3 separate regions of the Homo sapiens genome follow, and regions 1 and 3 are each linked to region 2. The links are contacts of gene promoters, found by promoter capture Hi-C in human tissues and cell types (Jung and others, 2019). All regions are on one chromosome and are shown on one strand. Each heading gives the region's core, a stretch centred on a gene start or on the middle of the fragment in contact. The rest is flanking DNA. Distances are from core to core; before and after follow the strand shown.

Region 1 (5,048 bases), core at 1,342-3,841, 240 kb before region 2:
ATTCCTTCTGCCCACAGAGGCCTAGTCTCCAGAGCAGCCCCAGATCATGGGTGGGTGGATGTTCAAGGAGATTTCAGCGTGGCCACAGGGAGGAATGTTCCGATGATCCGAGATGGACAGGTCTGGAAGCCTGGCTCTGAGTTGGGCAGAAGGTAGGCTAGTGCTGTCCAGACACCTCCACCCTCTGCCTGGACTTTACACATGTACTGAAACTGGGGAGGAGGAAGAGGTATCCCACCACAGGACTGTCCCTCAGGAAACTGGGGGCCCTGGTGGGAGGAAACCTGCTTTGGCTGTAGAAATAAACACCTCTGTTTGGTGAAAGCAATGTTTGGGGCAAGAAGATGGACACCATATCTGAACACAGCCCTCTTCTGACGTGGTTATTTTACCTGGCCCTCCAGGTGGGAGTGGCCATGTTCCAGCTCAGCCAAGGCCAGCTTGGAGGTGACAACTAGGAGGTGGTGAGGACCTTCTGTGGGGCAGGAGAAGAGCAGACAAGGGCTCCCCCATCACCTGTCCTCTGTAGGAAGTGGTCTGGCCACCCCTCTCCATGCCCCACCGTGAACACTGCTGGACTGCTGGGTGTGACCCCGAGGGTGGGCTGGGGGCCTCCTGACCCCTATTGTACAGTGAGTCTGGATGTGTAGGTGGGGAGCGAGCAAAAGAAGGTACCCTTTCCTCACTAGGTAATAGCCATGTGACCCACAGCTGATTGGAACATGGAGACTGAGGGTTAGGGATGGGAAGGAAACTCCCCTGAATTCTTTTTGGCAGAGTGGTGGGGCTGGGGACTAAATGCCATCTTTCTCATAGTTTTCTAGCGTCCACCTTCCATCCTCTTTTCTTCCTCTGACCTTCCTTCTAAAAAAAAACAGTGCTGCAATCCCAGCATTTTGGGAGGCCGAGGTCGATCACTTGAGGTCAGGAGTCAAAGACCAGCCTGGCCAACATGGCAAAATCCCATCTCTACTAAAAATGCAAAAATTAGCTGGGTGTGGTGGCACATGCCTGTAATCCTAGCTACTTGGGAGGCTTGAATCCAGGAGGTGGAAGTTGCAGTGAGCCAAGATTACATCACTGCACTCCAGCCTGGGCAACAGAGCAAGACTCTGTCTCAAAAAAAAAAAAATGTGGCTGCATTAGTAACTAAAGCAACTAATCAACCAATGAATAACAGGTGTTGCAAACTAAATTGGCATTCCAAAGTAAACATTTTCTAGGTCCAAATGAATGCAAATGACAAATATAATAATCTTGACTTCAGTCTCTTTTGTAATTCTTCTTCCGCTCCCTCTTCTGTTCCTCCCCCACAAAAAACTTCTAATGGGGTCTAGAGCAGTTCCCTACACAACGCAGGGTGGAGGGGATGAAGTAGTGGGGGCATTATCCTTCTTCTTGGACGGAGCTCGCCCTTTGCCTGCTGCCTGAATTCTGCACCAAATAAACCAATGTGCACCTGGTGAGACCCTCAGAGCGAAGGGCAGACCTCGGCCTGGCAACCCTTGCTCTCTAGAGCAGAGGAGAAGCCAAAAGGCTGGAGGGTCCCACCCAATGCTCTCCTCCAGCACGCACGCAAACACATGCATGGATGCACAAACAAGCGCACGCACACATAGGAGCGCATGCATAGAAGCAGCACACGCAGACACACACATGCAAAGATGCCTGCAAAGGCACACATGCACACGCACATACATGTGCAGACACCTGCAGAGGCACACATGCACACGCAGACACACAGATGTGCAGACATCTGCAGAGGGACACATGCACACGCACATACATGTGCAGACACCTGCAGAGGGACACATGCACACGCAGACACATAGATGTGCAGACACCTGCAGAGGGACACATGCACACGCAGACACATACATGTGCAGATATCTGCAGAGGCACACATGCACACGCAGACATGCACACACACGAACACATGCACACGTACACAGGCGCATGTGCACACACAGGCATTCAGGCACGCCGCGTAAATGGGGCAACGACGAGGCCCTGGATGAACCGTGGGGAGAGACCGCGAGCCTGGATTCTACGGCGACAGGGACTCCTCCGGCGAGGCGGCCTGCGGGGGCCTTCCGGCCGCGTCCGCCAACTGGACCGACCCCGAGCCCCACCCGGCCAGGCACCCGAGGTCTCCCTGGTGGGCAGGTGGGGAGGCCCCACGCTGGGACCCTGCACCGCCCCTCGCCCCTCCCGACTCGGGGCGTGCAGACCCGACGACCGTGGGAGCGAGTTCGTGGCGCTCACGGGCGCACGCGAGAGTGTAAACACCCGGCCCCACCCCCTGATCGCCCCCACCCCGCCCCGCCATTGGCTGCGGGAGCAGAGTCCCCGCCTCCTGCTTGTTCTGGCTCCGCCCCTGCCCCGTCTCCGGGCCTCCATTGGCTGTGGTGACAGCGACCTTTCAGGAGGGGCGGGTGGGCGACAGCCCGGAGGCGGTGACGAGAGTAAGATGGACGGACAACCAAGCCAGTGAAAGCGCGCAGCTGCCCTAGCAACTGCGGTCCACCAATGGCGGGGCCGGGCGGGGATGCGCGCTGTCAGCGCTGGGCGGCGGGGCGGGGCCGGAGGCGAGCAAGGACTCGGGGCCCGCGCGGCGCCTCTCGGGGCCGGGCCGCCGCCTCTGCGCTCAGCCCCGCAGGCCGGGCATGGGTGGGGGCGCCGGGCCGTCACGATGAGCGCCCTGGGCAGCCCGGTCCGGGCCTACGACTTTCTGCTCAAGTTCCTGCTGGTGGGCGACAGCGACGTGGGCAAGGGCGAGATCCTGGCGAGCCTGCAGGATGGCGCGGCCGAGTCCCCGTACGGCCACCCGGCGGGTGAGCGCGGGCGGAGGGCGTGCCGGGGTGCGGGCGCGGGGCCGGGGAGGGGCGCGGGGCTGGGGAGGGGGTGCGGGTGGGGGTCCGGGTCCGGGGACGCGAGACCGGGCAGGGGTCGGGAAGAGGCCGGGGCGCGTGGCCGGGGAGGGTAGGAGTCCCGGTCCGGGGGCGCGGGGCTGAGGAGGAGCGCGGTTCGCGGGCGGGCCTTTCTCCGCCCGGCCCTGGCCCTCGTGCTGCGGCGTCCCTGTTGCACCCCCAGTTCCACTCGAGGCCCCGCGGCGCAGTCTCCATCCTTCTCCGCAGTCTGCGCGCAGCGGGAGCCCGCGGCTGGGCCGGGCGCTGGGCTCCTCCCGACCTGGGGCCGCTGCTGTGGGGACCCGGGGCGGGGGCTCGAGTCCGCAAGTGCGCGTTCGGCCGCGGGGCAGGAGGGGCGGGAGGGGACGCGAGCTCCGGGGCTCCTGGGGCGGAGCGCGGCGAGCAGGCGCCCAGGTGCTGGGTCTGCGCGTGGGTCGGAGGGGAGGGGAGACCAGGGTCCGGTCCCGAGGCCAGGGGTCCCGCGTGTCCGGGGGAGAGGAAGGAGCACAGGTGACTCGCGTGCGGAAGAGGGGACCCCCCACGACAGCGGCCGGAGAGCGGGTTCCAGGGCGAGGGGAGGCCGGAGCGCCCAGAGCTCCCAGGCAGGCAGCCCGGGGATCCCCCAAGTTTGAGGCTTGAAAGCCGGCGCCCGGCGAGGGGGTGGACGGCTCCGGGGAAAGAAAGGCGGGGGCAGGAACCCAGGAGAAGGGGGAACGCGCAGAGGCGAACACCTCGGCTGGGAGTGAGGAGCAGGCGGGGCCTTCACCCACGCGCATCCCTGGAACAGCTTGGACGAGGCCGACCCTGAGGCTGTGGAAGGAGCCCAGCCTGTGCCCACCTTCCTGCCGCGCCTCGGGGCTGAACCCACGCTTCCAACAGAGACCCGCTCTGAGTCCTGGGCGGAGGAGGGCAGCCGGGCGTGGAGATGGAGTCTTGGTGGGAAGGACCTGTCAGCTCTGGGGCCTGGGAAGGGTCTGGGAAGCCCCAGGTCCAGGGTCCTGCCAGAGACGAACTTAGCGGGAGAGGGTGGGAGGAAGCGGGATCTGAGGCTGCTCGGTAGAGGGTGCAGGCTGTCCCCTAAGGGCAGCTCCAGGCAGGCGGCGTGAGCACCAAGGGAGTGTGGCACGGCTGGAGGGGGTGGCCTGAGACTGTGGAGCGTGGGGTGGGACTCAGGTGCCCGGCCACACCTCAGCTTAGGGGACGGGGTGAGGAATGGGCAGAGTTTGGGGGAGCAGCTGAGATGGGCTTGGGCTCACGACCAGCACCCAGAGGCCTCCTGAAACTGCAGCATGCGGGGGAGTCTCTGGCAGCTGGTGGGTGCAGAGTGTGCTCCGTGGGGCAGGAGGGGAGCCTGCGTCTCTACCTGTCCCCAGGCGCCGCTGCCCCCGCATGTCCTACCCCCCTCCCCGCTCGGTGGCAGGTCTCTAGGACCGTGGTGTCCAGTAGGATGCCATGAGCCACGTGTGGCTGTGGAAGTGTAATTAGAAGGAAAGAAAACAAAAAGCTTCCATTCGTCACATTTCTAGATAGTTCGGATGTCGCTGTGGCAAAGTCCGAGGGCCAGCGCTGCCCTGGAGATTGAGCGCCTGGAGGACAGGGCTGGAGATTGAGCGCCTGGAGGACAGGGCTGGAGATTGAGCGCCTGGAGGACAGGGCTGGAGATTGAGCGCCTGGAGGACAGGGCTGGAGATTGAGCGCCTGGAGGACAGGGCTGGAGATTGAGCGCCTGGAGGACAGGGCTGGAGATTGAGCGCCTGGAGGACAGGGCTGGAGATTGAGCGCCTGGAGGACAGGGCTGGAGATTGAGCGCCTGGAGGACAGGGCTTTGTCTGCACTGTGCCCTCGGGGTCTGGGCTCAGTGAGGGATGAACCCTACCAGAGCTACAGGAATAAAGCACCCAACAACGTGTACGCCCAGACGAATATGGCGCTTTAAGAGCTGTGCGTGTTTTGGGGGAGCAGACGGTTGACAGTGTTGAGTTTGATTGAAGGTGAGTGCCGTGGGGCGTGTGTGAGAAGGGTCACGCACAGAATGTTTGTGAAACTTCCTTCTGGTTGGTTTGAATGGAGGCTCGGGGATGCTTCTGCTGCGTGACTTTTGGTTGCTACATGCCGAACTGAGGACGAACCAAAACAATG
Region 2 (4,807 bases), core at 2,282-4,781:
AGTGCCCTTCCCTACACTCCCACCCTGAATTCTGACCACTCTTCAGGGTCCACTCCATTAACCCCAACCCAACTCCTCTCACCCTGTGTCCATCACTGACCTGGCAGGGCGCCCACTTAGGCTGTGTACACACGTTATCTCATCCTCACCACAGTCCTGGGAGGGAGGTAACCCTACTCCCCAGGCCTCTGATAAGGAAACGAGGCTCACAGGGCTTAGATATCTGTCTACAACGACACAACCAGAGGGCAGGTGAGGGAGGCCCCTGGGGTCGGCCACTCAGGCGCACTGGCCCCAGCTGCCTCCAGGGCTCCAATGCACCCTACCTCTCTTCTGCCTGTGGCCAGCTCTTTGGCTGCTTGTCTCAGGCCCTGTTGCTCCCTAAGCCCCACAGTCCCCACAGCACTGGCACACAGGGCAACCGGGAGAACACCTGTCAGATTAAACATGTCAGGACTACTAAACTTAAGGAAAAAATATGCTTCTGCCATATTGCCAACTCTCCATTTATAAACTGGTACTAGTACTTTCTAAGGGTAGACTGACCTTAACCTCTCCCAACACCCTTCACTCAGTAAAACAGGGATAATGGCCAGGCTTACATGTAATGTTCCTTCTGGGCGTGAAATGAGACTGCATGTAAAATGACATTCTTTTTTTTGAGACGGAGTCTCACTCTGTCGCCCCAGCTGGAGTGCAGTGGCGTGATCTCGGCTCACCTCAACCTCCGCCTCCCGGGTTCAAGCAATTCTCCTGCCTCAGGCTCCTGAGTAGCTGGGATTACAGGCATGCACCACCACGCCCAGCTAATTTTGTATTTTTAGTAGAGATGGGGTTTATCTATGTTGGTCAGGCTGATCTTGAACTCCTGACCTCAGGTAATCCACCCACCTCGGCCTCCCAAAGTGTTGGGATTACAGGTGTGAGCCACCATGCCTGGCTGTAAAATCACATTCTTGAGAGCCAGGCTCAGGTTATGTATCCAATAAACAGAGACCATAGCTACTAGCTAAGGAGAATTTAAAAACAAGAACTGAATTAGAAGAGAGGCCAGGTGCAGTGGCTCACGCCTGTAATCCCAGCACTTTGGGAGGCTGAGGCAGGAGGATCACTTGAGCCCAGGAGGTCAAGACCAATCTGGGCAACATAGTGGAACTCCATTTCTACCAAAAAATAAAAATAAAAATAAATTAGCTGAGCATGGTGGTGCATACCTGTAGTCCCAGCTACTAGGGAGGCTGAGGCAGGAGAATCACTTGAGCCTCAGAGGTCAAGGCTGCGGTGAGCCATACAGTGAGCCACTGCACTCCAGCCTGGGTGACAGTGAGACCCTGTCTCAAAAGGGGAAAAAAAAAATTAAAAGAAGAAATCCAGTATTACACCACGTTTTCTTTGTTCCCAATGCAGTGTGTTTTGGTGTAGTGTGTTCTGAGAAGACAGGCCTTGTGCCACTGATGGACTGTCTCACACATGTCTTTATTAGCCCCTTCAAGTTTATTTCAGTCTCGGAGACGGAGTCTTACTCTGTTGCCCAGGCTGGAGTGCAGTGGCGCGATCTTGCCTCACTGCAAGTTCCGCCTCCCAGGTTCACGCCTTTCTCCTGGCTCAGCCTCCCGAGTAGCTGGGACTACAGGCGCCCCCCACCACGCCCGGCTAATTTTTTGCATTTTTAGTAGAGATGAGGTTTCACTGTGTTAGCCAGGATAGTCTCAATCTCCTGATCTCATGATCCGCCTGCCTCGGCCTCCCAAAGTTCTGGGATTACAGGCATGAGCCACCACGCCTGGCCTATTTCAGTCTTTTTTTTGGGACAGAGTCTCACTCTGTTGCCCAGGCTGAAGTACAGTGGTACAATCTCAGCTCACTGCAACCTCTGTCTTCCAGGGTCAAGCAATTCTCCTGCCTCAGCCTCCTGAGTAGCTGGGATTACAGGCGTACACCACCATACCTGGATAATTTTTGTATTTTTAGCAGAGATAAGGTTTCACCATGTTGGCCAGGCTGGTCTCAAACTCCTGACCTCAAGTGATCCGTCCACCTCGGCCTCCCAAAGTGCTGGGATTCCAGGCGTGAGCCACCATGCCCGCGTACTTCAGTCTTCTTTAAAGCAGTGATGTGCACGGTGCTGTGAGCCCCCAAAGAGAAAAACAGCAGCAGTAGTTTACTCTGGGCTGATACAAAACTGAAAAATCTACTTGCCTCTCCATTTTCCTGGGCTGGACTCGGTGCATCGGCTGACACATTCTCTTGGTCATCAGTTTTTGTTTTCTTACTACATTCCTTAAAAAAGCAAAGGAACATTATCAATGAACTTTTACTTCGTCTCCCTTAAGAAAATGTGCACATTCTGACCAATGAAGCTCATGTATTTCTATCCTTTCTTTTAGTTTATTTATTTATTTTTTTAGACGGAGTCTCGCTCTCACCCAGGCTGGAGTGCAGGGGCGCAATCTCGGCTCACTGCAGCCTCCACCTCCCGGGTTCAAGCGATTCTCCTGCCTCGGCCTTCTGAGTAGCTGGGATTACAGGTGTGCGCCACCACACCCAGCTAATTTTATATTTTTAGTAGAGACTGGGTTTCGCCATGTTGGCCACGATGGTCTTGAACTGCTGACCTCAGGTGATCCACCCGCCTCGGCCTCCCCTCCCAAGGTGCTGGGATAACAGGCTTGAGCCACCGTGCCTGGCCTTCTATCCTTCTAACCCTTCTAGTGAAACAGGTACTGAAGGACACACACACATCTCTATTGTTTACAATAATAAAAAAGCAGAAGCAACTGTAGCCTTCACCCCACAGGCGAATTCCCCTGGACACAGGTGTACTTAGAATAGGACGCAGCCACCACCGGGGATGAACGACCCATGGAATGTTAGGAAGCCTCCTGCCACGGCGTCACGCGCAGAAGTGCCAGCCACAGAGCAGCATCCACAGGAGCCCATTCCGGCAATAACAGCTACAAAACCCCCCTGCGTGCGCTGCGCGGTTGTTGCCATGGCCTGGAGACAACCGCGGAAGGCGCCGGTCAGCAGCCGTCACCCGCTTCCGCCCCTGCACCGGCTGCTCGGTGACCCTCAGAGGGGCAGGTTCGAAAACGCCTAAAACCCTCTCGAAACGCTTCTGATCATTCCCGCCACGACCGCTGTTTACTCGGACTGTGGTGCGCGGCACGAGAGGCTCGGTCTCCGTGCGTTTCCGCGCTTCGCGGGCGTGGGAAAGATGGACAAGTTCAGGGAGAACCGCGAAGACCGAACCCGCCCTGCAGAGCGCAGCGGACCCCGCGCCGGCCGCCTCCACGCCGAGCGGGCCCAGGGTGCCGAGGCCGGGGGCGCCTTGAAGAGCCCTGAAGCGAGCGAGCGGCGGGCCCGGACCGCCAACCTCGGCCGCCCAGAGCCCCACAGGACAAGCACCAGGCGCGCGCCTCCCCGGCCCGCGGCGCTCACCTTGCGCGTGCAGTGCTCACACTTCATCTGGAGCGCGGCGGGCGGGAGGCCGGGCGCCTCAGCCTCAGGGAAGCACCGGGAGACTGGGACACCACTGCCCGCCGCCCGCGGCCCTTTGTTGTCCTCCCCCGACGCGGCCTCACCCCCAACGGCCGCGCTCGGCCAATGAGAGCACCGGGAGAGGACAAGCCGCACCCCTGGGCCAATAGGATTCCCCACCCTTACGGCTTTGCCTAGGCCAATGACAGTGTCGGGAAGGGGCGGGCCAGGCCCCAGAGCCAATCGGAGCGCGCGGGGCGGACCGCAGGCTCACTCCACGTACGGCGCCGGGGGGACCGGGTCCTTGCGCCGGTTTCCGCTTCTCGTGGGTCCTGCGGCGGCGGCGGCGGCCAAGCGGCGTTCACCAGGGAGTCGGTGAGCGCGCGGACTGTCCCGAGGCCAAGCTGGGGCCGTTCCAGGGTGCTCGGTCCGGTGGTCACGGGGCCTGGAGGCCCCTGGGCCCGCGGAGGCCGCGGCCGGGCTCTGTCAGCCAGCTCGGCGTTGGACACTCGCCTTACTCGCGGCTCCTAACGGGGCGGGCCGGGGGCACAGCCCTCGTCCGCCGCCATTGCCACTTGACGTCGTGTCACGTAGGCTCGGCGGAGTAGCAGCGCGCATGCGCGGCCTGCCTGTCAGTAACCACGTGATGGACCCGGAAGCCCGAGGGCAGATGCTAAATGATGGCCATTTGACATTTGCGTGTGTTCACTATGGATAGTTTTACCAAGTACATTGATTTGGGCCCTTACAGCTTACAAAGTAAAGATAACACTTACTCCTCCAAGAAATTGATTTCAGCTAAGCAAAACATTGATACAGGGCTATAATGGAAGTGTTGGACTCATAAACGTTTTATGAAATCAGTGTGTGTGTATTACAGAAATCAGAAATGAGAAGTAAGAACATGTCTGGGAGAGTGTGACATAAGAAAAATAACTTGTAGGCGTATTTAACAGACAGCAGCAGTTCTCAGGATTCCCCATGTTAGAGCCTTCCTTCCTGTCCTCTGAGAAATGAAAATGAAATCCAAAGACCCCCAACTGACTACACGAACCCCCTACTGGCTAAGGAGATCCCAGGGTTGCCTTGAAGGCAGTTCTCAGCCATGACAGATGGGAGGTGAGACACCTGTTATTAAGGCCAACCCTTGGCTAACTACCATTAGGTTTTCTTGGCTAAGAGCTTAACGGAAACCAGCGCTTTCGAAAGACTCCACCGCTGATAACAACTCTCTCATTTGCAGTTTCGGCCCAATTGACCAGTATTCCTTACTGATAAGAGACACTGACCATGGAGTGGTTCTGGTGAGATGACATGACCCTCGTGA
Region 3 (4,696 bases), core at 1,002-3,501, 140 kb after region 2:
ACGCATGGAGTCGCGCACCCGTCTCTGCACACACGCATGGAGTGACGCGCACCCGTCTCTGCACACACGTGTGTCCACACGCACCCCTCTGCACACATGCGTGGAGTCACGCGCACCCGTCTCCTCACACACGCGTGTCCACACACACCTGTCTGCACACGAGTGTCCACACATTCCCGTCTCTGCACACGCATGTCCACGCGCTCCCGTCTCTGCACACACACGTGTCCACACGCACCCCTCTCTGCACACACACATGTCCACACGCTCCTATCTCTGTACACACGCGTGGTCATGCACACCCGTCTCTGCATACATGTGTGGAGTCACGCGCACCCGTCTCTGCACACACGCGAGTCACGCACACCCGTCTCTGCACACACACGTGTTCACATGCACCCGTCTCTGCAAACACGTGTGGAGTCACGCACACCCGTCTCTGCACATGCGTGGAGCCATGCGCACCCGTCTCTGCACACACGCGTGTCCACACGCACCCGTCTCTGCACACACATGCGTGGAATCACGCGCACCCGTCTCTGCACACACGCGTGGAGTCATGCGCACCCATCTCTGCACACACACGTGTCCACACGCACCCGTCTCTGCACATGCGTGTCCACACACATCCATCTCTGCACACACGCGTGTCCACATGCACCCGTCTCTGCACACATGCATGGAGTCACGCGCACCCGTCTCTGCACACACAAGTGTCCACACACCCGTCTCTGCACACGCACGTCCACACGCACACGTCTCTACACACGCACGTGTCCACACGCACCCGTCTCTGCACACCCGCGTGTCCACACGCACCCGTCTCTGCACACACGCATGGAGTCACGCGCACCCGTCTCTGCACAAAGTGTCCACACACACCCGTCTCTGCACATGCGTGTCCACACACACCCGTCTCTGCACACACGCGTGTCCACACACATCCGTCTCTGCACACACGCGTGGAGTCATGCGCACCCATCTGCACACACACGTGTTCACACGCACCCGTCTCTGCACATGCGTGTCCACACACACCCGTCTCTGCACACACGCGTGTCCACACGCACCCGTCTCTGCACACACGCATGGAGTCAAGTGCACCCGTCTCTGCACACACGTGTCCACACACACCCGTCTCTGCACACGCACATCCACACGCACACGTCTCTGCACACGCACGTGTCCACACGCACCCATCTCTGCACATGCGTGTCCACACACACCCGTCTCTGCACACACGTGTCCACACGCACCCGTCTCTGCACACACGCATGGAGTCACACGCACCCGTCTCTGCACACACAAGTGTCCACACACAGCCGTCTCTGTACACGCACGTCCACACGCACACGTCTCTGCACACACACGTCCACACGCACCCGCCTCTGCACACGCACGTGTCCACACGCATCCGTCTCTGCACACACACGTGTCCACACGCACCCGTCTCTGCACACACACGTGTCCACACGCACCCGTCTCTGCACACACATGTCCATACGCACCCGTCTCTGCACACACACGTGTCCACACACTCCTGCTCATGTGCTGCACCTACTGGCTTTGGGCACCAACGTCAACGCTTCGTCATTGTGGCGGGAGGCCCTCAGGACAGAGAAGTGCCCCCTCCCAGAGGACTCAGTCACCCTGGGGTCAGAGCCCAGGCACAGGTCTCCCTCAGCCCCTGAAGCTGGGCACTGCGGCCTGACGCACTCCTCCCAGGGAGGTCGGGAAACCTCAGGCCTGGACCATACCTCAGACCTCCCGCCTCCAGGACATGGAACGCAGAGCCACGGTCAGCTGGTCGGCTGCAGCGTTGGGTGCGGGTGCAGGCCCAGGCTCCTTCCCCACGGCCAAACCAGGGGGTGCCAATTCTGGCCTGCCCTGTGCTCCTCTGCACTGTGTGGGTGACTCATGGGTCATGGGTGGCTCCAGATTTCTGGGCATAAATTGGGTCCCAGCAGAAAGTACCCCAGAGGACCAGGCAGGCTGGGGGCCAGCTCTGCCGCTCACTTCCAGACCCTGCCACCCGTCCCCAGCCAGGGAGTCCCTTCTCTGTCCTCTGGTCTGCCCCGCCCCAGGCCTTGACCTCCTCCCTGTGGAGATGCAGGGGCAGTGGGGGATACAGGGACGCCCTGCTCTCAGGGCAGCTCTCAGGGAGGCAGTGCTGGGGAGGGGTAGGTGAGACCGCCCCTCCCACCGGGCCCACAGCACCACCCTGGTCTGAGGCACCGCCTCCAGGAAGCCCTCTCTGAGCTCTGAGCGCCTGCGGTCTCCTGTGTGCTGCTCTCTGTGGGGTCCTGTAGACCCAGAGAGGCTCAGCTGCACTCGCCCGGCTGGGAGAGCTGGGTGTGGGGAACATGGCCGGGCCTCCGAGGCTCCTGCTGCTGCCCCTGCTTCTGGCGCTGGCTCGCGGCCTGCCTGGGGCCCTGGCTGCCCAAGGTAAGAGCTTCCCAGGCTCTCCATGGCCACAGCTCCAGAGCTCTCCCTGCCCCATGAGCTCAGAGCCCCCAGTCTGAGCCACAGCACAGCCCCCAGGAAGCGGGTGGGGTGCTGAGCGGCCTCCAGTGTCTGAGGACTCATTTAAGAGAAGGAAAAAGGGTGGACCCCGGTGGGGAGTGGCCGGGGCTGTCCAGGCAGGGCCGCTGCTTTGGGAGGAAGAAGCCCACAGTCTCGGAACACGAGGACAGCACCTCCCCCAACACCACAGCCGGTGCCCAGATCTGCTCCATGCCCCGTAAGGCACCGTGTCTTTGGCGACATGTCAGCCCTGGGCTGTCTCAGGGCCCCACCATCCCCACCACTGTCCCCTGCAGGGAGGACATTCTCTGTCCTTCTGGCCAGACTGATGGTGACAGCCCAGGTCCTCCCCAGAGGTGCAGCAGTCTCCCCACTGCACGACTGTCCCCGTGGGAGCCTCCGTCAACATCACCTGCTCCACCAGCGGGGGCCTGCGTGGGATCTACCTGAGGCAGCTCGGGCCACAGCCCCAAGACATCATTTACTACGAGGACGGGGTGGTGCCCACTACGGACAGACGGTTCCGGGGCCGCATCGACTTCTCAGGGTCCCAGGACAACCTGACTATCACCATGCACCGCCTGCAGCTGTCGGACACTGGCACCTACACCTGCCAGGCCATCACGGAGGTCAATGTCTACGGCTCCGGCACCCTGGTCCTGGTGACAGGTAGGGAATGTGCCCATCCCAGACCCCCCTCCCAACCCCAGCTGCTGGCCAGGCTCTGCTCCCCCAGCCCTTGTCGTGGGACCCTCCCTCCTACATGTGCCTGAACTGTTCCAGCTCCCAGCCCACTGCCCCCAGCAGCCTCCTAGATAGCTGCCCCTCCTCCCCTCCACAGCCTTTCCCTGCCCCGAATCCCAAACCCCGGGGGCTCTAACAGGTTCTCCACCGGGAGAATCCCTTCCTTCTTTTTTCCTTCTCAGAGGAACAGTCCCAAGGATGGCACAGATGCTCGGACGCCCCACCAAGGGCCTCTGCCCTCCCTGCCCCACCGACAGGCTCCGCCCTCCCTGACCCGCAGACAGCCTCTGCCCTCCCTGACCCGCCAGCAGCCTCTGCCCTCCCTGCGGCCCTGGCGGTGATCTCCTTCCTCCTCGGGCTGGGCCTGGGGGTGGCGTGTGTGCTGGCGAGGACACAGGTCAGTGTGAGCCCCAGCTGCCACCTGCACCCCAAAGATTGTTCCCTCTCCTGAGAGCAGCGTGGGGGGCGCCAAAGCCCCAGAGGAAAACCCTGGTACCCGCCGCCTCCTCTGCAGGCTCTGGAACTCTCAGGGTGGAAGTGGCCTCGGCGGGGAGGGAGGGGGACCAGCACCAAAGCGACCTGAGGGGGAGGGAGCAGCCCAGGCGCTGGGCCCGCGTGTGCGCGTGTGCGCGTGTGCAGGTGTGAGTGTCTGAGGGGGGATCTCTGAGGTCTGTGCGTGCAGGTTGGAGTGTGCGGGCAGAGGAGGGAGCGCCCAGGCGCTGGGCCCGCGTGTGCACGTGTGCAGGTGTGAGCCTGTGTGTGGGGATCTCTGAGGACTGTGCGTGCATGTTGGAGTGTGCCGGCGTGCTGTGTGGCCGTGGGAAGGGGAGGGGGCCTCAGACAGACACAGAGTCTAGGCGTGGCCACTCCCCTCGGTCCCTGCTGTTTGTCTGGGGCTGGAGTGGGGGTCCCGCTTGGCTTGGGCTTGGTGGGGGGGTCCAAGCCACTTCCACTCTCCTTCTTCAGAGGCACCCCAGGGTCCGACCCAGCCCTGCCTGGGGAAGGCTCTGCTGGGAAGCCCTGGGGCTCAGGAGACCTGGGGGCCAGCCCAGAGGAGCCCCGTGGGGGTCTCGTGTTAAAATTAGAAAGCTGACCGGAGTGGGGTGGGGTCCAGGACACCACGCTGGCCACTGGTTGGAGACGGCGGTTCTGTCTTTCAGATAAAGAAACTGTGCTCGTGGCGGGATAAGAATTCGGCGGCATGTGTGGTGTACGAGGACATGTCGCACAGCCGCTGCAACACGCTGTCCTCCCCCAACCAGTACCAGTGACCCAGTGGGCCCCTGCACGTCCCGCCTGTGGTCCCCCCAGCACCTTCCCTGCCCCACCATGCCCCCCACCCTGCCACACCCCTCACCCTGCTGTCCTCCCACGGCTGCAGCAGAGTTTGAAGGGCCCAGCCGTGCCCAGCTCCAAGCAGACACACAGG

The links. The method cuts DNA at HindIII sites, captures the fragments that hold promoters and counts their contacts. A contact is called where the count stands out against the background at its distance.
Region 1: the fragment with the promoter of RAB40B here is called in contact with the fragment with the promoter of NARF in region 2 in 1 of the 25 tissues and cell types used here (dorsolateral prefrontal cortex).
Region 3: a contact is called between the fragment with the promoter of CD7 here and the fragment with the promoter of NARF in region 2, in 1 of the 25 tissues and cell types used here (neural progenitor cells).

What each region holds. Positions count from the first base shown.
Region 1 is chr17:82,696,241-82,701,288 of GRCh38, reverse strand. RAB40B (RAB40B, member RAS oncogene family) reads left to right here and starts at 2,591. Exons shown (of 6, transcript NM_006822.3): 1 at 2,591-2,834. The coding sequence starts at 2,693. RefSeq lists silencers at 2,023-2,412, 2,433-2,862. The HindIII fragment of the contact is 28,650 bases long and covers 1-5,048 here.
Region 2 is chr17:82,457,465-82,462,271 of GRCh38, reverse strand. It overlaps NARF (nuclear prelamin A recognition factor), which reads right to left and starts at 3,531. Exons shown (of 11, transcript NM_012336.4): 1 at 3,442-3,531; 2 at 2,200-2,280. The coding sequence starts at 3,468. It overlaps NARF-AS2 (NARF antisense RNA 2), which reads left to right and starts at 3,753. Exons shown (of 3, transcript NR_184099.1): 1 at 3,753-4,599; 2 at 4,724-4,807. RefSeq lists enhancers at 2,777-3,609, 4,043-4,192 and a silencer at 3,193-4,012. The HindIII fragment of the contact is 15,922 bases long and covers 1-4,807 here.
Region 3 is chr17:82,315,163-82,319,858 of GRCh38, reverse strand. It overlaps CD7 (CD7 molecule), which reads left to right and starts at 2,251. Exons shown (of 4, transcript NM_006137.7): 1 at 2,251-2,445; 2 at 2,878-3,192; 3 at 3,450-3,664; 4 at 4,428-4,696. The coding sequence starts at 2,364. The coding sequence ends at 4,538. The HindIII fragment of the contact is 15,699 bases long and covers 762-4,696 here.